Linked DNA regions of Homo sapiens: regions 1, 2 and 4 are each linked to region 3. Evidence: promoter capture Hi-C in 16 types of primary human blood cells and fetal thymus (Javierre and others, 2016). All regions are on one chromosome and are shown on one strand. Each heading gives the region's core, a stretch centred on a gene start or on the middle of the fragment in contact. The rest is flanking DNA. Distances are from core to core; before and after follow the strand shown. Region 1 holds the start of CST9L (cystatin 9 like). Region 2 has its middle 8.3 kb from the start of CST3. Region 3 holds the start of CSTL1 (cystatin like 1). Region 4 has its middle 7.9 kb from the start of CST4.

The links. The method cuts DNA at HindIII sites, captures the fragments that hold promoters and counts their contacts. A CHiCAGO score of 5 or more calls a contact.
Region 1: the fragment with the promoter of CST9L here is called in contact with the fragment with the promoter of CSTL1 in region 3 in 4 of 17 cell types (M1 macrophages, fetal thymus, M0 macrophages and 1 more); the score reaches 8.5 in M1 macrophages.
Region 2: a fragment that was not itself captured here is called in contact with the fragment with the promoter of CSTL1 in region 3 in 5 of 17 cell types (M0 macrophages, fetal thymus, megakaryocytes and 2 more); the score reaches 7.0 in M0 macrophages.
Region 4: a fragment that was not itself captured here is called in contact with the fragment with the promoter of CSTL1 in region 3 in 1 of 17 cell types (M0 macrophages); the score reaches 5.4 in M0 macrophages.

What each region holds. Positions count from the first base shown.
Region 1 is chr20:23,564,536-23,570,233 of GRCh38, forward strand. It overlaps CST9L (cystatin 9 like), which reads right to left and starts at 3,949. Exons shown (of 3, transcript NM_080610.3): 1 at 3,676-3,949; 2 at 1,439-1,552; 3 at 197-502. The coding sequence starts at 3,915. The coding sequence ends at 413. The HindIII fragment of the contact is 6,864 bases long and covers 2,590-5,698 here.
Region 2 is chr20:23,626,908-23,632,353 of GRCh38, forward strand. It overlaps a transcript of CST3 not described here. Among named protein-coding and RNA genes, the nearest start is that of CST3, 8.3 kb to the right of the region's middle. The HindIII fragment of the contact is 348 bases long and covers 3,004-3,351 here.
Region 3 is chr20:23,436,649-23,442,436 of GRCh38, forward strand. CSTL1 (cystatin like 1) reads left to right here and starts at 3,037. Exons shown (of 4, transcript NM_138283.1): 1 at 3,037-3,158; 2 at 3,496-3,838. The coding sequence starts at 3,620. RefSeq lists enhancers at 5,276-5,375, 5,778-5,788. The HindIII fragment of the contact is 9,312 bases long and covers 1-5,788 here.
Region 4 is chr20:23,678,186-23,684,043 of GRCh38, forward strand. No RefSeq gene overlaps it. Among named protein-coding and RNA genes, the nearest start is that of CST4, 7.9 kb to the right of the region's middle. The HindIII fragment of the contact is 674 bases long and covers 3,679-4,352 here.

The DNA of each region.
Region 1 (5,698 bases), core at 2,699-5,198, 130 kb after region 3:
TGAGAGGAGATAGTCATTGCACCTCTGGCCACGTGGGTTATTGGCCGTGATCCCTGAGACAGCAGCTCAGATGTACCACTTGTGCCACCTGGAGCTGGCTCAGGAGTCCATCTACCCAGATCCTACTTGTCTGCCCTGGTGAGAATAACTCCATCAAACACCCAGCCCCTTTTATCGAGAACTACAGCACACAAAGTTTCTTAAAATGCTGATGTTTAATGATCTACACTACATGATTAGGCTCAAGATGTGTGGATTTTCTAAAACACTGATCTGAGATCTCAAACACATGCAAAATAGGATAACAAACAAGTCCAAAGCTGCTCAGCCACTGAAGAGTCCTCAGGAGAGTAGTGCTGATGTCCACGGAATGTGGGAGCAGCACATGGACAAGCCTGTGAGTGGGTTTCACTCAGTGGAATCCCTCCAAGCAGGTCTTGTTCAGGAGGCTGAACTGAGTCATCCAGGGCCTGGTGCTGATGGTGAAGAAGCAGGTGAAAGTCTGAGAGAACAAGCACAGGAAGGGACAGTGGGTGAGGGAGGCTCAGGAAGCTCATGGCTCAAGCTCTGAACAATGGCTTCCTCTCCACATTGCCCTTTCCCAGGTCAAGCAGTGGGAAGACGGGGCCTCTGGCTATCATGTGCTGCCCCCAAGCCTGAGTCCTGGGCTGTTCTGGAGATTTGAGCTGAACTGCAACTCTTTTCTGACCCAGGGGCGCCTGTGCAATGTTCCCCACTCCCTAGCAGTGGCCCTCAGGGGAACCCCGGGCTGTCCTGGTGTGATCCCTGCACCCAAGAGCAGCAGGAGAATGCATTGTCCCAGTGGAAGCAGTTCCCAGATTTAAGCAATCAGCTACCTATTTTTTAATATTACAATAAGGGTGTTGATTAAGCATAGGAAGAGTTTTCCCAGAGCCAGGCTTTACTTGGAGCTTGTCCCCTAGAGCAGGTGCTGCAGCTCAGCTCAGGGCCTGGGAGGGAGGGTAGTGGGGCTCCTTCTCAGCCTCTACCACTTTTGGGTCTAGGGGAGGGTAAGGAAACCCTGAGAACTGCATCCACAGACAGAGGTGATGTCAGATCCCAGGTTCTTCCAGAAGGCAGGGGAGGAAGACCAGAGAGGGGACCACTTCTTACTGGACCCAGGAGACTGGGACCCCAGGGGGAAAGAGCAGTCTGAAGGCCATGTGCCCTGGGTGCAGGCAGCTGCAGTGGCATGACAGGGCAGAGTTGATAAACTCAGATTGGCCAGGAGCCTGCAAGTGGACCCCTAGCTGCCTGCCCCTCTGCGCTCCCCACTAAGGCACAAGCAGGGCAGCCTGGTAGAGGCTGCTGCAGGCTCACTCCTCTAAGTCTCTTTGTCAGTTGCACCTGTGCCCACACCACACCCCATGTGGCATCCACAGCTGTATCCAGGAGGGAAGCTGGTGTCCTGTCTTACATTGTTCAGCTCTGTGCTTTCTTGGAAATGGCAGTTGTCAATGTCGTCTTCAAATTTCCCACACCTAGTTCTCCCCAGCAGTAGCTCCATTGAGAATACAGTCTTGGACTCCACCTATTGCACACAGAGAGATTAATGTGAACACACCCTCCTTGTTGCCCCTAAGTAGCTGCTGGTGAAGATGTCATTTGTGTAGGAGAAGTCCCAACATTCTCCTCCATTAGGGAGCTTGCCCATGGGCCTGGCATCAGGAGATCTTCTTTAGATTGGGCAGTTAAGAACAAAAAGCGGATGGGCATGGTGGCCCCAGGGCAGACACCCATGAATGTATCCCTATTTCCAGATGCACTTCCCACTCTCCCATGGTGAGACCCCAGTTTCACTCTCAGTCAGTGTCTGAACCTGCAGCTGCATTTCCAGAGGATGGCGCTATGTGCCTGGGGAGGGGTTTGGCTCTCCAAGAGCTTTCAGGGTAACCTCAGCCCTGGGACAGAGGGAGCCTCATCTAGGGCATGTTGTCAAACCTTCCACCTGACCTGAGGAAAAAAAAAATGCAAGAATGCCACCCAGCACTCCCACTACACACAGGCATACATCCTTGGGACAATGGCTTCAAGAAACACCATCTGGGGCCGGGTGTGGTGGCTCACACCTGTAATCCCAGCACTTTTGGAGGCTGGGGTGGGTGAATAATGAGGTCGGGAGTTCGAGACCAGCCTGGCCAACATGGTGAAAACCCATCTCTACTAAAAATACAAAAGTTAGCTGGGCATGGTGGCAGGTGCTTGTAATCCCAGCTACTCGGGAGGGAGGCTGAGGCAGGAGAATTGTTTGAACCCGGGAGGCAGAGGTTGCAGGGAGCTGAGATTGTGCCATTGCACTCCAGCCTGGTTGACAGGGTGAGACTCCATATCAAAAGAAAGAAAGAAAGAAAGAAACACCATCTGCCCTATTGCAAAGTGCACCTTGATCTTCTCACTCCTTTCAGTTTCACTTCATTCCATCTCCTTTCTCCCTATCCGTCCATTTCCCCAACTCCAAAACTGACTCTGGAATTGTCACATCCAGGAACCCACGTGGCAGGCTCCAGCCCAGAGAGCAGGGGTCAGAGAACCAGCCAGGGCCTTGCACAGGGTCTTTCCAGAGGCTGAAGCTTGGTGCAGGGTTGGGGTCCTTTTGCTCTTCTTGCAAGGTTTCAGTAATGAGGTAGGAAGAGCATTTTTGCCTCTCTACCCAACTAGAAGTCCTCAACTTAGCTGGGTGCAGTGGCTCATGCCTGTAATCCCAGCACTTTGGGAGGCCGAGGTGGGCAGATCATGAGGTCAGGAGTTCAAGACCAGCCTGGCCAACATAGTGAAACCCTGTCTCTACTAAAAATACAAAAAATTAACCAGGCATCTGGCGGGTGCCTGTAATCCCAGTTATTTGGGAGGCTGAGGCAGGAGAATCACTTGAACCTGGGAGGCGGATCTTGCAGTGAGCGGAGATGACGCCACTGTACTCTAGCCTGGGTGACAGAGCAAGATTCCATCTCAAAAAAAAAAAAAAAAAAAAGTCCTCAACTTGGTGACTATTTTCATTGTTCATGCCTACAGCACAGATGAACTGTGCATTCCTGATTGCATTCTGTAGTGACTTCATTAAAAGGAGAACATTTAGGATTAAGACCTGTGGTCTGAGGAAGAGTGTGAAACAGTCTTCAGTTTATTAAGTGCAGACACACCAAGGAGCTCAGAGAAGTTGGAAATCAGCAAAGAGGAACTGACCACCCAGAGGTCTTTTGGGACTGGTGGGGGTTTCTTATTGCTCCTGAACCCTTACTGTTCTCTTTTTTAATTTTCATTTTTTAAATTATCTCTTTTTTATTACATTTTTTGGAAGTATTTCTCAATTTCTCTCTATTCACATTTTCTGTTCAGCCCTTTTCCTTATTCCGTATCTTCATTTTCTTGGTAGTCCTCATTTTGAAGTCATTCTTCAGTTAAATAATGTCATAAAAAGATGGAGATTAAACAATATGTTTTTCATGAGAGTTGATTAGGATCAAATTATTTGAAATTTCTAACTTAGATGTTTTCAAAATCAAAAACTAACTAAACTACCTTGTATTTTCTTAAGTATGGACTACAACTGGTGAACAAGACTCTTCAATAAGACCCCCTGTCCCCACCCCACTCCCATTTTTCACTGAGCAGCACATGCCAGATGCCAGGGCAGGAGGGTACGTGGTCACCAACCTGCTCCTTCCAGGAATTCAAGATGTGCCCCAGTCTGTAGGCATAGTAGTCCTTGCTCTGTTGGTTGAATGTGTGGACAGCAAACTCCACTGTGGCAGGGAGGTAACGAGCCATGACATTGTGTTCATCACAGTCCCTTTGCTCGTGGAAATGCCAGGCATAGATCAGCAGGATCTGGGAGCCTAAGAGAAGCAGCAGCAGCGCCCAGGACAGACCTCCCTTCCACGGCAGGCCCAGCATGGTGCTGACTGTAGGCACCGCTGACTTTGCTCTTCCCAGCCCCCGTGCCCACAGGAGTTAATTGAGCACAGACCCAGCCCTTAATCTTATCTGCTCAGACAGCCCTGTGGGACAAACTTGTCTCACCCCACACTGGCAACAGGCACTCCTACAGGACAGGAAGGACAGGATCCTGGATTAAAGGGAGGCAGCTCTGGATGTGGAGTCACTCATCTGCCATCCTTCTGCCCTATACTCTCTAGGCCAGCACAAGCCACAGGCAGGAGGGGAGCTACCCTCTGCCACTAGCTTTGAAGGCTGCTCCTTCAGAACCCACAGGTTCTGGTTGTCCTCAGGTGCTTGGTGTCCTTGGATGATTCTGTGCCTTCGCCTCCCACAGCGAACTGAGATAAGACCTGGGGACATCTCGACTCTCACTCTCCCCTCCTTCACCCCGTCGAAGAGAGGATCTCCGTTGTTCAGAAAAATAACTAAGATATCAGTTTGTTCTTTTGTTGTATAATACCTCAACAGTTGTACTCTGTGAACCAAGGGAAAAAATGAAAAAAATAAATGGCAATTTTTATCAACCATTTTGACCTGGGATGGACAATGAGTATTGTGAGAAAAGGGCAGGAAAGACAGAGACCCAAGTCCTGAGGCCCCAGCCTGGTCATGCCCAGCCCAGCCCTGCTTGCATTTCTAAACCTTGTCAGCCCTGGTTCCAGCTGAGCCAGAGCCAAGGTTTCTACAGGGCCCACCGCCCTACATCTGCAGCCCCACCACACACACTCATGTTTTATTAGACTGGAATATCATTCTAGACCAAATTTTTAAACACTTCTCTGGGAGATCACATGTTTCTGCCTCAGTGAGATAGAGGTTGGACCATTCTTCAGCCCCTTGATCATTTTTGTCTCCATCTGACCATCCTTCTTGGTGTTCTAGAGTGAGCTATTTTGCCAGCACTTAGGTGATACTAGGTGGTTACTTTTAAATCAATTTCCTGGCAATAACTAACCTGAAAGAGGAAATAATAATATTTTGTTGCTGTAAGAATGAACATTAAATAGTGCAGGACAGGTGAAGTATGCAAAAGTGAGAGCTTTGAGTTTGGCTGAGAAGACTATGGTGCTGCAATATAGGCAAGAACCTAGCATTGTTGCCAGATAACAGAATAGAAAGTTCAGTCCCAAGTCAGGGAGACTGATTCTACAAGAACTGTTCTGACTGTGTCCCATACCATGTTCCCAGATCACAGCAGGGCCAGGCCTGGGAAGAGCATCACTGCATCTGTCCACACTAGCACAGCACTGGCCAGGTCAAGACAGCTGCAGGTGAAGAGAGTCATGCTGCCTGACCCAACACTGGGGTGGTCCCGAGTGTCTCCTCACAGGAGACTTCACCCATCACAGACAGAAGAAAGTAGCTAGTGTGTGGGGAGCTGCTGCCCAGGAGCCATGTGCATCTTGATCTTCTGCCTTGACTCCAGGAAGTGGGTGACACAGAGTAGCTGAAACCTGTGTCCTGATTAGCAATGATAACAGGTGAAATCTGGCCCATTGCGTTGTTTCATGGGTTGTTTTTTTTTTTTTTTTTGACGGAATCTCTGTTGCCCAGGCTTGAGTGCGGTGGTGTGATCTTGGCTCACTGCTGCAACCTCCGCCTCCCAGGTTCAAGAGATTCTCCTGCCTCAGCCTCCTGAGTAGCTGAGATTACAGGCGTGTTGCACCATGCCCGGCTAATTCTTTGTGTTTTTAGTAGAGATGGGGTTTTGCCATGTAGGCCAAGCTGGTCTCGAACT
Region 2 (5,446 bases), core at 1,928-4,427, 190 kb after region 3:
TTTTGTCGAGGCTTGACTGGAACATATGGCTGGAAATTATTTGGGACTGAAAGAGAAGCGGTAGTAAACATTTGCCTTAGGTAAAATGTAGCTTTGGGATGAAACTTTTTTAAACAGCTTTACTGACATTTAATTTTCACATACCTCACCCACTTAAAGTATACAATTCAGTGGTTCCGAGTATATTCACAAAATTGTGCAAATGGACGTATAATCTGATTTTAGAACATTTTCATGATCCCTCCAAGGAAACTTCCTATTAGCAGTCACTCTGCCTTCTATTGCCCCCAGCCCTAGACAACCACTAATCTACAGCCTGTCTCTATACATTTTTCTGTTCTGGGTATTTCATATAAATTGAATCATATTGTATGAATGCTGACTTGTTTCAGCATGGCTTGCTGGCTTCTTTCACTTAGCACATTTTCAAGATTGCTCCACATTGTAGCACGGGTCATGTCATTCTCTTTTATGCCCGTTCATTTTCCATTGTATGAATAGACTAACACTATATCTTGATTATCCATTCGTCAGTTGATGGACATTTGAGGTTTTTTTTAATATATTTTTTTCTGATTTTAATAATGATGCTATGAACTTTCATGTGTAAATATTTTGGTGAACTTAATGTTTTTATTTGTAGCTGACATATAAATATGAGTAGAGTTGCTAGGTTATATGGTAGGTCTAACCTTTTGAAAACTTGTGAAACTGTTTTCCAAAGCAGCTGCACCATTTTACATTCCCACCAGCTATGTATAAAGATTCCAATTTGTTATTTGTGGTCTCTTTGACCACAACCATGTAGTGGCTTTGAAGCTGCTTTTTACTGTGGTTTTGATTTGCCTTTTCCTAATAGCTAATGGTGTTATGCACGTTTTTATGCGTTTATTGGCTATTTACATATCTTCTTTGGAAAAACGTTTATTCAAATCCTTTGGAACTTTTAAATTGGTTTGTTTCTTTAAAAACTTTGAGTTATATAAAAATTAGGTTATTTGCCTTTATTTTTAAATTGGTTTTTTTAAAAAGAATTTTTAATTGGGTTACCAGTCTTATTGAGTTGTAAGAGTTCATTATATGTTCTGAATACAAGTTCTATATCAGATATATAATTTGCAAAATTTTTTTCCTATCATGTGTGTTGTTTTTTTTTGTTTTTGTTTTTGTTTTTGGGAGGGGATGAATTTAATTAGTGAGTTGTTCTGGCCTATTTGAGGGTTTCCTGAGTTCAAATCAATTCCATTTATGAGAAGTCCCGGGGGATCCCCAAGAAATTTGGTTGGTACTGGGGAGGTGCCTCATGAAGATAGAAAAAGGATGTCCAGATTGATTGCTGATTTCAATCCCAGGGGCACAGCTACACTTCTGGCTGACCACAGCTTAACGATGAGCCCGATTATATCTCAATAAGGGAAGTTACAGCCAATTTCTCCTTGAACACAAGTCCATTGCAGCATCTTCAGAGGCAGGGCCAGCCTCTATTTTTCAGTCATGGTGACATCTGTGGTCCTTGCATTTTTAAGAGTGGCCTGCTACTTGTAAGGTCCAGGGGGCAGGTCCTCCACTTTCTGCAAGCTGGTCCTTGAGGCATTACTTCTGAAACAGTCAAGAAATGTCATGGGACTGTGGGTCTGAGAACCGACTGATGAGTTATTTTTGTCTGTCAGTGAGGACAGACAAGAGCACAGGGCTGGAAACCCAACCCAACTGGCCTGGTGGTTGGTTCACATAACTAGGAAGTTCAGAGCAAGGGCGGGCATCAGGCTCTGCTTGGTGCAGGGACTCCATTATAACCCACCTGCTCCTTGCTCTCTGTTTCTCTCTCTCTTTTTCTGAGACACAGGGTCTCGCTCTTTTGCCCAGGCTGGAGTTCAGTAGTGAAATCATGGCTCATTGCAGCCTCAAACTGCTGAGCTCACGCAGTCCTCCCGCGTCAGCCTCCAGAATAGCTGGGAGTGCACCACCAGGCCTGGTTTCCTTGCTGTCTCTTCAGTTTTGTTGCTTCCCATAACTTGGCTTCATTCTCAAACAGGCTCCAAGTGGGCCCCAGACCTCAAGTCTTTTTTATCTTCACACTCAGCAGGGAAGGAAGAACCCACTTATCACACAGTCAAACAAAATCCCACCGTTAAGCCTATGTGGGTCCTGGGCAGCCACACATAGGTCACGTGTTGTCCTCATGCCAATCATGAGGCTTCAGGGGAGGGAGACCCGCTGCCCTGACCAGCTTAGCCAGGGTCAAGTGCTCCAAGCTGTGGTCCAAAGGGTAGAGTCAGCTTCCCTGGAAAAAGGCGGAGTGAGAGGGGAGGAGGGGTGAATCCTCACGGGGAAACTGCTATTGTTGTTGTAAGAAGGTGGGGCAGTCATGGCTTGTGAGTCAGACGCTGGCCGCTGGCCTCAGAGGTGTGTTTGGTAATGATGCCTCCATGCATACAGCATGAGCTGCCCAGTCAGAGAAGGCACAGAGCCTGTGGGGTAAACACTTCCCAGCATCATTCCCTGCCTGGTAGCCATTCAGGAAAGGCAGCATTTTCCTCAGTCTTTTCATCAGGGTCCTGGATTTGGGTAAAATAAATAGATAAATAAATAACTGTTGCTATTAGTGATCTCAAGTCCCTCACAAAGAAGGTGGTCCTGTTCACTAGGAAGGCCTTTGGTTTATAAGCACCTTGATGGGTGTGGGGAAGTCTACAAAGAGCTGAGTGGTTCTACCCCACAAAGGAGCCTTTGGACTTGCTGAGGGACTCAGTGGAGAGGATGCGTGGACAGATGGGGAATGCCACGGCGAAGAGCAGGCAGGGGAACAATCAGGCCAGTGACTGGTGGGGGGGGGAGGGGGTGGAATGTGAAGGTCAAGTGGCAACTACCTTTGGGAGGGAAGCCAAGGGCATTTCAAGGACAGAAATACCCAGTGCTGGGTTTGAGGAAGTGGGGGTTACTGTTCCACAGGGCAGGAGGTGATTTCCTGAAATCACCGACAAATTTCATTGCCCCAAACAAAGCTTTGGTGGAAGGAATTTCCGTTTGCTTTTGCTTTGTTGAGTTTCATTTACTGGAAATCAAGGGCTACACGTTTGCAGAGATACCTGGCACGGAAAGTGTGTCCACAGGCAGATGTGACCATGAGACTATCTTTACCTGCTGCAATTTGCAGATGTTTTAGGAGCAACTGGACTTTGACCAGGACTCTAATTGAGTTATAGTCCAGTGGTTCCTTGGGGAAGCAATGGGAGGAGTATTTAAACATCCAATGTCCACGTCCCATCCCAGAACACGATCAACTTTTCCGACTGGGATCATGGGATTGCCATGTGCAGCCAGGCTCCCCAGTGACGCCATGTACAGCCAAGCTTGAGACTAGAGTTCAGATGAGCCTGACCTGGTCTCAAGGGAGCCAGAGCCCCAGCTGATGTCACAGTGGCCTGAGCACATCTGACTCGACCCCATAAGCCTCAGGTGACAGGATTTGGAAGTGACCCACTTGGCATCCCAGCACCAAGGGTGAGAGCAGGTATGGGTAATTAAAGGAATGTCTGTTCCCTATTTTAGTCACCATTGTGTTCATGGCTTCTCAGTGTTGTGTCTTTGAGCAGTGAACTCAGACAGCACAGCAGAGCATAAGGAGAGGAAGGGGTGACTAGCTGCTGTCTTCCTGGGCCTCGTCTCTCCAGCTTCGCCCTGGAGTTATGGGACAGGGCTGGCGATTTGCTCTCTCTACATCTTTTAGGGAGGCTTGTGGCCTAGTCCAAGGTCACTCCCGTCAGCCAATCATAAGCCAGCTCTCCTCTGTCTCTCACAGCCACATGGGTGGCAACATCCCAAGCCTCTAAGTCCATAAATAATAAACCACCAAGGCAGAGTTAAAAAAAAAAAAAAAGGCAAACTCAATAGTCTTCTATTGAACTATTAACTAGTCTATCAGTAAAGACTAGAGGTACAATACTTGGAAATATCCCTGACCAAAATATAAAATATCCAGGAATAAATTTCACAGAAAATATGAAAGATGCATAAAATTTATTCTACTGAATACCATCAGAAAAGCAGGAAGGTATTGCAAGATGCATGGTATTCTAAAATGAAAGGCTCAAATGTTAAACGTTGTCAATTTTTTTTCCTAAAAAAACATAATATTTCTACTTATTGAACCTGAAAAAACAGTTTCATTTGGAGGAAGAAATACATTTAGAAAACAAAATTTTGGGGGAATAAAGAATAAAGATATAAAAATATTACCTAAAAGATACAAAAATATTATATTTAAAATGGAGTAATTAAAAAAATGGAAAAGAACAAGCCAGATTTAGGACTGAGATCCTGAAACTGACCTATGGTTATGGAAATCTGCTGTGGGTGTCAGCTGGAGCGGCTCTGGGCGGTCTCCTGTGGAGACTCCATCTTGGATGCCAATGCTGAGCCTCAGTCCCATCAATGCTTCTAAGATTTCTATTTCATCTGCTGTTTACTGTAAATCCAGCCCTTAGGTAAATTCCTTCTGAAGCTCCTATACCTTTTCCCCTATGGCACAGAAGCCCAGGGTCTGGGGGTAATGGGGTGGCGATCCACTGTCTTGCAGCCACGCAGGACACGGCTTCTGTTCCCAGGTCCCTATTACAACTTTCTTTCTAAGAAACTAGACTTGTCAGCCTCTCTTCGGCCTCTCAGCTCCCTGGGCCTTTGAGGGTAGGTGTCTGCAGGCTTGCCATCGAGGAACACCCCGCCAGCCTGACCGTCCTGGGGAGAGGGATCCTTCTGCAAAGGCTGGCTTCCTTCAGGACAAGAATGCTAGGGAGCTCAGAAGCTACTGGGCCCTTCCTGATCCCACCCCAATGGTCACCAGCAACACAATGCAAGAGGTGTCAAAGCACTATGTTATAAAGCCACCAGTGTAGAACCAGATCAATGAAAAAGCCTCTCCAACTTACTGTGTTTATTCAGAGCCAGGCCCTGTAATGAATCTATTTATATGGATAACTGTAGATGAAGTATATACTTAAATCAACATTTAAAATAAATGTAAAAGTAACTCTTGCAGATGAAAGGTGCAAGGGCGAGGCCTCCTCTCCAGGATGTGCTGGTCACAGTGACCTCTGGGTCAGAGGGGCTTCTGGCTCACTGGCCTCATGGGGGCCCAAGGGAGGCATTTACAGGCCCGCCGGCTGCGGAGGGGAGGCAGGGGTGGCACCAACCTGCTTCCCTGTGGGCTGTGGGCCATGGGGCCACCGGGCGGAGGGCAGGGAAGGAAGCAGACACACAGGGAGGCTGGGGAGCCCTGTGCACAGCCCGCCCCCAACCTCAACTTCCCCAAGGAAGAAGTGTGTCAGAAAAGGCACTGGGCTATATGGTCAGCTGTCCGTTTCCACTGGGTGCCTGGATGGAGGTTGCCTGTGTCAAAGATCCTTCACCGAGGTAGAAAACCAGGAGCACCTCCCTGCAGGGACCC
Region 3 (5,788 bases), core at 1,787-4,286:
TCAGAAAATTTCAGATAGCAGATGTCGGCTGATGAAGAGAGTGTCACAGTGTGACCCTTTCCCAGCACCAATGCCATATCTACTGGTGAAGGAGTGATGAAGAACTACAGCCAGGAAGCTCCCTGTCTGCAGGTTCCTCAGCCCACATAAGCAGAGCCTGCTGGGATAAAACACATCATCATGTTCTTGTTTATTTCCTGCTTCTCCTAGGAGCTGGACTGATAAAGAAATCCTGAGCTTGGTCGTCAACAGACAGAACCAGGAAGTTGTGCAGCTCATAGGGGGCCTCTGTGGGACACACACCATCTCGCCCACACAGCACCCAGCCACGGGTTGATCCAACAGGAATCCCACACTTGCCATCATGCCTGGTCCAGCAGTGGCCTGTTACCAGGTTCAGCTTATGAGACAGGAGGCCCAGTTTGCTGGACTCCTGGGAAACATACTTTTTCTTTCTTTCTTTTTTTTTTTTTTTTTCAGACGGGGTCTTACTCTGCTGGGCAGGCTGGAGTGCAGTGGCACAATCACAGCTCACTGCATTCTAGACCTCCAGGGCTCAAGCGATCCTTTCATCTCAGCCTCCAGAGTTGCTGAGACTACAGGCATGTGCTCCCCGGCTAATTTTTGTGTTTTTTAGTAGAGATGGGGTTTCACCATGTTGGCCAGGCAGGTCTTGAACTCCTGGCCTCATGTGATCTGCCCACCTTGGCCTCCCCAAAGTGTTGGGATTACAGGTGTGAGCCACGGCGCCTGGCCAAATTGCACATATTTAAAGTGTACAATTTGATGAAATTTGTCATACGTATGCACCTGTGGAATTATCACTACAATTCATACAACAGACATATCTATCACCTGAAGTTTTCTCATGCCCTTCTGCAATCCTTCTCTCCTATGCTCCTTATTCCACAGACATGAGCAGACCTCATATTTCCTGTTATTCCATGGTCTAACCAGAGCTCATATTTTTCCCTTCTTTTATTGGCAAGAACAGGGCTCCTATTTGTTATAGCCAGCACTCCTAATTTACTCTTGTTCCACGGAAATACTCAGGCCCCTATTTTTCCATTGTTTCATGGCAGTAACCAGACAACAACTAAGCCCTCTATTTCCCTTTGTTCTGTCGCCCAGGCTGGAGTGCTTGGTGTGATCTCAGCTCACTGCAGCCTCGACCTCTCTTGGGCTCAGGTGATCCTCCCACCTCAGCCTCCAGAGTAGCTGGGACTACAGATGTGGGCCACCATGTCTGGCTAATTTTTGTATTTTCTGTGGAAACGGGGTTTCACCATGTTGCCCAGGCTGGTCTGGAACTCCTGGGCTGAAGCAATCCTCCTAGCCTCAGCCTCCCAGGTGTCAGCCACTATGCTCTGCCCCTATTCCATGCTGTAACCAAGCTCCCTGTCTCCCTTTATACATGTACCTTACCAGAATCATATTTTTTTCCTGATTCCATGTCCACAGAGTCAGAAATCAGCATTTTGCTGACACAAGCTAAGGAACGCCAGTGTGACCTGTTAGGCGCCTCACATCTCTTTCTGTGGCATAGTCAGGGTCTATGTTTTCCTTTTCTTCAATTAAAATTGCCAGTGACTCATTTTCCTCTTTATGGACACAACCAACTCCCATATTTCTTAAGCAGATTTATTGTTTATGCTTTGAGCCCCACATCCATGGGGTTTCTAATATGGCCCACCCAATGTTATTTTTCCTCTCTATGGGCCTCAGCCTGATGGGGGTATCCCAGGTGTCTGGGGCATGCTGAGACGGCACAGGTCTGTGTGGCTTCCCGGATTACTCGGAATCCTTCATTATCTATTCTACAGCAAGTGGCCCTCGGCAGCTCAGGCTCAGGGAATTTCAAATGTATCACCTCCACCGGCTGGACAAGTCCTCTCAAGACAGGCTCTGGGGCCAAGGGAGGATGTTGTGACTGGTGCTAGCAACATTGTCATGATGGAAGGTGGCCTGGCTTCCGGGACATGACAGGCCATGGGTGAAGTGTGGGTTCAGAGTCACAGAAGAATCACGAAGAAGACATTCTTATGCACCTGACACCTGACTTGGGAGCAGGTTCTTTGCCTACATCCAGTTAGTCTCTACCACAATTCAAGTGGAGTCTTTCTCCCCATTCTCATATTACAGGTGAAGAAACCCAGCTTAGGGAGATGAGGTAACTCTCCCAGAGTCCCCAGCGAAGGACTTGAGCCAGGACAGTTGGATCCTAAGTCTCCTGCTTCCCCTCCCTCAGCACGCTACTCCTCACAGAACAACGCTTTATTTAGTTTTGGACATTTTAACCTTTATTTTGGAATAATTTCAGACTTACACAAAGGCTGCAAAAATAGCATAAAGCATTCTCGTATACCCTTCATTCCACTTCCCCAAATGTTAACATATTATACAATCACAGTACAACGGTGAAAACTAGAATATCAACATTCACACAATACTATTAACTAATCTGCAGATTTTATTCACATTTCATCAACTATTCCACTAATGTTTTTTTCTGGTAGGATTCCATTTAAGGTGTTTTTTTTTGTTTGTTTTTTGTTTTTTTTCTGAGACACAGTCTCGCTCTGTCACCTAGGCTGGAGTGCAGCGGCACCCTCCCGGCTCACTTCAGCCTCCACCTCCTGGGTTCAAGTGATTCTCCTGCCTCAGCCTCCCAAGTAACTGGGACTACAGGTACACACCACCACACCCAGCTAATTTTGTATTTTTAGTAGAGATGGGGTTTCACCATGTTGGCCAGGCTGGTCTCGAACTCCTGATCTCTGGTGATTCACCCACCTCAGCCTCCCAAAGTGCTGGGATTACAGGCGTGAGCCACCGCGCCCAGCCAGCAAATGTTTTTAAAATAGGGCATTCATGGGCTTTTGGGGGTAAGTGACACCTAATCTTCAGGGGTCTGCGGATAATTTCTAAATGGGGCTCACAGTTTATTCCTCCCTCATAGGGAGGCTGCAATTACCTCACAAAGCTCCACTAGGGTCACAACAAGATAGCAAAAGCCAGTGCAGGGCCTGCAGGTATAGGGGGATCCTGCAAGCAGAAATCTGTGGTGGGCGGGCGGCAGGTGAGCAAGGAGAACGTGTCTGTAAAGGAAGCACAGGGAACAGGTGGTGGCTTTGTAAGACAGTTGGAACCCAAGGAAGGTAAGAATAATGTACCACTCCTTGCTCCATATGACTGCTTCCTTATATCTCAGTTCAGATATTACCTTCTCCGTAAGGCCGCCTCCCTTCCTGTAAGTGATGCTTCTCTATCTACAACCCCAGCTCTTATTGCAGAGCACTGTAGGGGCTGTTCTGGGGCTTTTCTTCCCTGAGACATGTGAAGGCAGGGAGAGGGGCTTGCACGCCTTAGCAGGTGTTTAAAAATTTTGCTTGCCTGGATCACCAAAGAACTGAATGGGTGGTGTAAATGGGTAGAAAATGAACTGGCTGGAAACTGAGTGACAAGGTTCAGGTCTGAATCTCTGTTTAAATGCAGGCAGGCCATCCCCCAGGAAAGCCTATGTTGGTGAGGGTTATGATGGGAGAATGAGTGAACTGCAGCCTGGCACCACCACACCCTGGAAGGTGCAGTTGGGAAGAAAGTTTCTGAGGCTGTAGACATGGGGATCGGATGCTGGAGAAACCCCCTGCTGCTGCTGATTGCCCTGGTCCTGTCAGCCAAGCTGGGTCACTTCCAAAGGTGGGAGGGCTTCCAGCAGAAGCTCATGAGCAAGAAGAACATGAATTCAACACTCAACTTCTTCATTCAATCCTACAACAATGCCAGCAACGACACCTACTTATATCGAGTCCAGAGGCTAATTCGAAGTCAGATGCAGGTTTGTACCTTGCTCTCCCAAGACATCAGCAGGCCCTGTTCTTGCCAGTTCAGACATGTGAGGATTCTGGGGTAGCTCCCAAGAGAACCAAGTGGTGGTCCTCCGTGAGGTCCCAAGGGGGAAGCATCTTCACTTGTAGCAGGTACATTGTAGAGTTGTTCAGATCCCAGAATGTCCTTAGCCATGCTTCCAAAATGCTTTCCTAAGGACTGGCATGAACTCTAACTCCAATACACTTAGAGGCAAAAGTGTTCACTGAGGATTAAACTCTTTTTTTTTTTTTTTTTGAGATGGAGTTTCGCTCTTGTTGCCCACGCTGGAGTGCAATGGCATGATCTTGGCTCACTGCAACCTCCTCCTCCCAGGTTCAAGTGATTCTCCTGCCTCAGCCTCCCAAGTAGCTGAGATTACAGGTACGTACCACCACACCTGGCTAAATTTTTTGTATTTTTAGTAGAAACCGGTTTTCACCATGTTAGCCAAGCTGGTCTCGAACTCCTGACCTCAGGTGATCTGCCCACCTCGGCCTCCCAAAGTGCCGGAGTTACAGGCGTGAGATACCACGCCCGGCCAGCTCTTTTTCCTTGGGAAGAAATGCCTTTCATTCTGATATTTGACCCTGCCGGAGTGACAGCAAGGATAATTTTGCTCCCTTTAAAGTTCTCATTTGGCAAAATACAAATATTCTCTGTAGGCCTGTAGCCCCCAATATTTTTTCAATGTGTAGGGTTGTAAAATTCAAAACTGGGTGTTCTGTGTTATACAAACTTCAAATTATACAGAGGGTTTATTCTGGAAGTGGAGAGGATGTGAGAGATAGGGTTCAGCCAGATCACCTCACCTTCTGTTTTACATATAAAATTTCTCTGAAATATATCAATTGAAGGATAATAGAAGAAAGAAAAGTTGTTAGGGAACCCCTTTTATTGGTACAACATTTCCTCAAGGTCAGATAATAAACTATACAGTCCCCTTGGTGTCCATGAGGAATTGGTTCCAGGACCCCTCAGGATGCCCACATCCATGGATTCTGAAGTCTTTTATGTAAAATGGAATAGTGTTTCCACATAACCTATGCACATCTTCCCACATATGGTAAATCATTTCTAGATTAATTATAATAAGTGGTACAGTGTAAATGCTATGTAGATAATTATTATACTGTACTGTTTAGGGAATAATTACAAGAAAAAATGTTCAGTATACAGGCAACCATACATTTTTTTTTCCTGAATATTTTGATGCACGGTTGTTTGCATCCACAGATATGGAGCTCGTAAGTACAGAGGGCTGACTGTAGAAGTTGGGGCAGCAACAATGCTACGTCCTAGTTCAATTAGCTAGATTTGGGAAAACACAACTGGCTATGGGAAAGCTCTCTCGCCAGAGAGTAAGGCAGCTGGAACAGAGAGAACCGGCAAGGCGGGAGGGCAGCGTGGGGAGGACCAGTCAGCATAGGTCAAATCCTCATCCCAATGCAGACTGTCCCACAGGCTGGCTCAGTGAGGCACTTCTACCACAAGATGGCGATGTTGCCCATTTGGTTCTTGGTTCTTCCACAATTGGTTAAGACCCCAAGGAGGCTTGCCTTGTGAAATCAATCCATCACCATTAAGTTAGCTGTTAAGGAATAATGATGAGCATTTGATGTCATTCACATTGATAAGCAGACAGAGCAGGCGTGCCTCCTGGTAGCTGGGTGATCTTGGCATGGGCCTCTGGGCACCCCCACACCCATATGACCATTGTGTCTGTCCTTACACCTCACAGAGGGGACAAGAGCAGGCGTGGAGGGCTGCCAGGTGCCTCTGGGGGCTTCACGCCCAGCTCCTCCCAACTGAGGCTCCTGGTCAAGTGACATCCAGACTCTCCAGACCTCAGTTTCTTCACCTGCAAAGTGCCTCAGAATAGGAGGGAAGCACTTAGCACAGTGCCAACATCTGGTAGCAC
Region 4 (5,858 bases), core at 2,766-5,265, 240 kb after region 3:
TGCCTCAATAAACTGTCTAGTTCTGTCAGTGAGATATTGAAGTCCCATACAAATACCGTATTGGTATTTATCTCTTTTTTTAGGTGTAGTAGTATTTGTTTTATGAATCTAGGTGTTCTAATGTTTGGTGCAAATGTATTTGGAATTGTTAGATCTTCCCCAATAAATTTCTTTATCATTATATAATTACCTTATTTGTCTCATTTATAGATTTTCCTATTTTTTTCCTTTTTGTTCTCTCTCTGAAATATGTGTGACTCCTAATTTTACATGCTTTTTATATGGTCCCATATTTCTTGAAATGTTTAATCATTAATTTTTTTCCTTTATTTTTGTCTGACTGGGTTAATTTCAAAGACCTACTTTCCACATCTGAAATAATTTCTTCTGCTTTGGTCAAGCCTACTATTGATACTTTTAACTGGATTTCAAAATTTCACCAATACATTTTTTATTTCTAGTAGTTGTTTGGGTTTTTAAAAATCTATCTTTTTTGATACTTGAATAGTATTTCTGATTTATTTTGGTTTTCAATTTTCTCTTGGATTATATTGTGCATTTTTAAAATCGGCATTTTAAATTCTTTATCAAGCATTTCAGAAAAATTATTTTCATGAAGACCCATTGCGGGAGAGTTAGTGTGGTCCTTTTGAGGTATTGTTACACTCTGCTTTTCCATACTTTTGGAATTTTTTCTCTGGTTCCTTCTCATCTGTAAAGCTATCTCTGTTTCTAATTTTTAAATTTACTTTCATTTGGAAGGGATGTTTTTGTTTTTTCCTTTTCTCCCTTGAGAATGTGTATAATGTGTGCTGTGTAGGGTTCAACTTTGGTTCTGGGTGCTTTCATTGTCAAAGGTTCTGTGTATGTTCCTTGGTTATAGGTAGTCTTTGTATGGTGGCTTCCTTAGATGTTGGTTGTAGTAGTGGTGAAGGGAGAAATGAGTGGGTTCACTGCCTCCTACATGTCCAGTATGGCTGAGGTCTCAGGAAGTTTATCTCATTCTCCAGTGCTATGCATTTCTGTCAGCAGATTTTCTATTAGATTGTGCCATTTATTTTCCAATCCAGTGGGTGGTGCTTATGGATAAGAACCAGCTAAGGCTGATTCAGATGGGGCATATACTTGATCTTTGTTTATGGCGAGATGCTTTCTGCTGCCTCAGGCAATGGGCTATGTTGTGGAATGCACAGTGGTGTGAGCTCCCTGTACAGTCCTGGACTGAGGGACCAAGCTGGCTTGGGCCAGAGAATGCAGACATGCCTACATGTCCACCAGTGGTAGGTGCAAGCACTATCTCTGAAGTCAGATAAAGAGGCAGCTGCAAAACATCCAGAGATGTGCCTGGGTATGGAGGGGATAATCCTCTGCTGCCCAGTGTTCTCTGCCTGGAAAGGGAGTGGTAACCTACCCTCCTAATCTAGAAAAGCGAGTACTCCACATGCATGAAGATACGTCCAGGCATGCAGCACAGTGGGTGCTGCTGATTCAAGACCTATGCACCTGAAGGGAGGGGTGGCTGAGGCTCCTAATCCAGGTGAGAAGGTTCTCCAAATGCCTGGGAATGTGCCCAGCATGGAGTGGAGAGGGTGCGTCTGCACCAAGATCTCTGCATGAGAAGGGAGGGGAAGCTCAGGTTCCTATTCCAGGTAAGTGGGTACTCAACATGCCTGGAAATATCCCTGAGCAAGACAGAGACGGCACTGCTGTACCAAGATTTCTGCACAGGACAAGAGAAGTGACTCAGGGTTCCAGTCCAGTAGAGCAGGTGCACTGAGTGCTTGGAACTATGCCCTGGAGAGGAGTGGAAAATAAAGACGCACTAAGATCTCCGCATTAGAAGGGAAAGGCAACTTATACTCCTAATCCAGGTGAGGGGGTGTACTGAATTCTTGAAATTATGCCTGGTTGTGGAGTGAAGAGGGTGCTTCTGCACCAAGATGTCTGCACAGCAATGGAGGGGTGACCCAGGATCTTAATCTAGGTGAGCAGATGGGCCAAATGCCTGGAAATATGTCCCTCAGTGAGGAACAAAAAAATTTGCTGCAGAGTGGAGAAATGGCTGTTGCAAGAAGCTCTGTTCATGGGAGGGGTGCCAGGCCCTTATTTCAGGAAGTGGAAGTGTTGAATGCTGGGAAATATGCCCAGGCTTGGACCTGAGGGGGGGGTGTTTTTGCTCTGCCAAATTATTTGCAAGATAAGGGAGCTATGAACCACACTCCCCATTCACACCAGCAGCTCAAAACTGGTGGGACACACCTCCCAACTGACAAAGGGGGCAGGCTGGGGCACCCAGAAATGACACCCACACACAAGTCCATGACTGCATAGCTGTTCCTGGCCATAGTACCTATCACTCAGGAAAAATTGTGGCTTCAGCAACTCTCTTTAGTATGGATTTCTATTTTTATTTCATTTTGTCTTATTGGTATTGATTTCTATTTTTATTCCACTGTGGTCTGAGATTACAGTTAGTATGATTTTCCTTTTTTAATTTATTGAGACCTGCTTCATGGCTGAGCATGTGGTCTGTCTTAGAGCATGCTCTGTGGTCCCATGAGAAGAAAGTATGTTCTGTGGTTGATGGGTGGTGTATTCTGTAGATGTCTATTAGGTCCAATTGGTCAAGTATCAAATTTAAATCCAGAATTTCTTTGTTAGTTTTCTACGTCAATAATCTATCTAACACTGCCATTGGGATATTGAAGTACCCCATTATTATTCTGTGACTAATTCTTTTTGTTGGCCTGGGCATACTTGTTTATCAATCTAGGGGCTGCAATGTTGGGTGCACATGTTTAAGAATAACTAAGTCTTCTCGTTTAATTGAACCCTTTGTCATCATGTAATGCCCTTCTTTGTCCTTTCTAAATTGCTGTTTTGGGATTAAAGTCTGTTTCATCTGATGTGAAAATAGCAAACCTCTCCCTTTTGTGTTTTCTATTTGTGTGATAGATCTCCCTCCAACCCTTTTTGTTGAGACTATGGGTGTCATTATGTGTGAGATGGATCTTTTCAAAGACAGCAGATGGATGGGTCTGGGTTTTTAAATACAACTTGTAATCTGTGCCTTTTAAGTGGGTCATTTAGGCTGTTTATAGTCAAGATTAATATTTTTTGTTTGTTTGTTTGTTTGTTTGAGACAGAGACTTGCTCTATTGCCCAGGCTGGAGTACAATGGCACGATCTCGGCTTACTGCAACCTCTGCCTCCTGGGTTCAAGTGATTCTCCTGCCTCAGCCTCCCAAGTAGCTGGGATTATAGGTGTGCACCACCATGCCCAGCTAATTTTTTGTAGTTTTAGTAGACACTGGGTTTCACCATGCTGGGCAGGCTGGTCTCGAACTCTTGACCTTGTGATCCACCCGCCTCAGCCTCCCAAAGTGCTGGGATTACAGGTGCGAGCCACTGTGCCCGGCCCAAGGTTAATATTTATATGTGAGTTTTTGATCCTATCATGAAGGTGACAGCTGTTTTCCTTGTAGTATGTATTGTGTTGTTGCTATCTACTGTCTCTGAACTATGCATTTAACTGTATTCTTGCAACAGTAGGTGTTGTTCTCTTATTTCCATCTTTAGACCTCGTTTAAGCATCTCTTGTAAAGCTGGTCTAGTGGTAACACATTTTCTCAGTGACTGCTTGTCTGGAAAAGATTTTTTTTTCTTCTTTGCTTATGAAGCTTAGTTTGATGGGATAGGAAATTTTGTTTGGAATTTATTGTCTTTAAGAATGCTGAAAATAGGCCCCAAAAGATTGGGTTCTTTCGACACCTAGTCAAAAATGAAAGTGTTATCCTCATGAAAATGTACTCACTAATATGGTATGTACAATAGTTAGTGTATCATGAAGTTTGTTTTTATTTTATGTTATTTCGTTTTTCATTTTACCCAAGTGAGACCCAAATTGTTTTATTTTTTACAGGAATTTAATGAGATAGGATTTCTTGACTTTCACATTTGTAGGGTGCAGAACTGTGTAGTGAACTGCTCACAGCAAGGATGTATGCCTGTGAGGTGACACAGACCCGATGGATCAGACTTGGCCTCCATCCTCCTCTTATCCTGATGAAATCTGACAGCTCCAGACAACACAGATGTAAAACTTTGACCAACAGTAAGATGGCTTGAAGAAATACTTCTTTCAGGACAAACTCTTTCTGCACATTCCATAAGGTAATCAATATAGGATATAATTATACATTTGCACAATTTTGAAGCCCACTACAACAATGAGAGTTTTAAAATGCTGTGATTAGTGATCATTGTCAATAGAGTCTTAACGATCATCAATCTTAAGTCAAGAAAATTTAGAAAGTACTAAAATCTTAGTGCTCACATGAAAGAAAACTGGAAGCTTTTCCAAATTAGACAACAACCAGACAAATTTGCATAATATTACCAATGTGAGTTTTGAAGCAGAAAGAAAATGTTATAAACCATGATTTTCACAAGTAGGATTGATTGTAGTATTTCATAATTTTGGATGATTGTAGTATTTATCAGAATTTTAAAGTGATCAAACTGAGTGGAAAGACTGGTTTACCTTTCTGCTATATTTATAGAAAATTCTATTATAAAATCAATGTCATGTGATGAGGCAAATTGTGACTCAATAGTTGACTATGAAAACATAGAAATAACTTATTACACTGCTGTGTCAAGTAGCTAATTAATAAAAATGCTATGTTAGCAAGTAAAAAGAACACAAATTTAGGAAGGGCAAATCTGCCCTTTCATCTGCAAGGTGCATGGATGGACTGATGAGGACAAAGCCAATGACATCATGAACAGGAAACAATGTTTCTCTCAAGCTGCAGGTTTGAAAAGTCAGGAAGCCTCTTCCTTGGCTGAGGACTGCTTTCTGACTCAATGGAAGACCTTATTCTCTAGTGTCAGGGGCTGTCAGAAACTTTGCTTATGAGTAAGAAGAACATCCCACTGCCTGGATGATCTATATCCACCTTTACACAGAAGCACAGAGCTACAGAGAAGGGGTTTCTGGATGGAACGTTCCACATCTGGCTGGACTTTATGGGTTCTAAAGACACAGGACCTAGGTCCACTTTGCAGACGAGACTTGACACTGGCTGCTTTACACTGAGGCCTGCCATGCTCTGAGTCCATCACTACAGCCTCAAAAATCCCTCCCCACAGTCTTATAGTAACCTCTTTGCTTTGTTTTTTGAATCATCCCAGATATCTTGATGTGAATTTATTCCCTTTTTGCAATAAGCCAATAATCTTGAGTCTGTTAACTGCAAAATCAGTTTTGATGACTGATCGCACTAGGATGTATATCATTTTTCTGGAATTTGGGATGATTGTTGTATTTATTAGGACTTTAAAATGAGTAATTTGTTGTGACTTATTTCCTCTTCTTAAATAAACACTAACTTCTGTGCTTAGTTTCAAATTGGTTATATTATGCTATTTTTCATGCAGATAACCCTCTGAATTATGTAAGCCTCAGACCTCACGGAACCTGGGTTGTCTGTGGTCATAGTGCTGAGAATCCACCTGCCCAAGGAATGACCGCACTTGTTCCTGCTTCCCAGGCCTCCATTGGATTTATCTCTCCTTCCAGAGTGATTTGTCTATGCTGAAGGTGGAATTTCTAACCTCTGTGGTTTTACACTTTTAGCAAGAATATGTGACATTATTTTTGCTAAAGGAACTCTTAGAAGGGGTGCAATATTTCCAAAACATGACCCTTAGGAGACTTTTTTACTCCCAAAACCCGGTAGCTTCCAGAGAGAGCCCAGATCCTCAGCTTGGTGCAGAAGACAAAGACCCACATGCTCACCTTCAAGCTTCGCTGTCCCCTGCTCCCCACCTAGGGAACAGACACACAGGGAGAT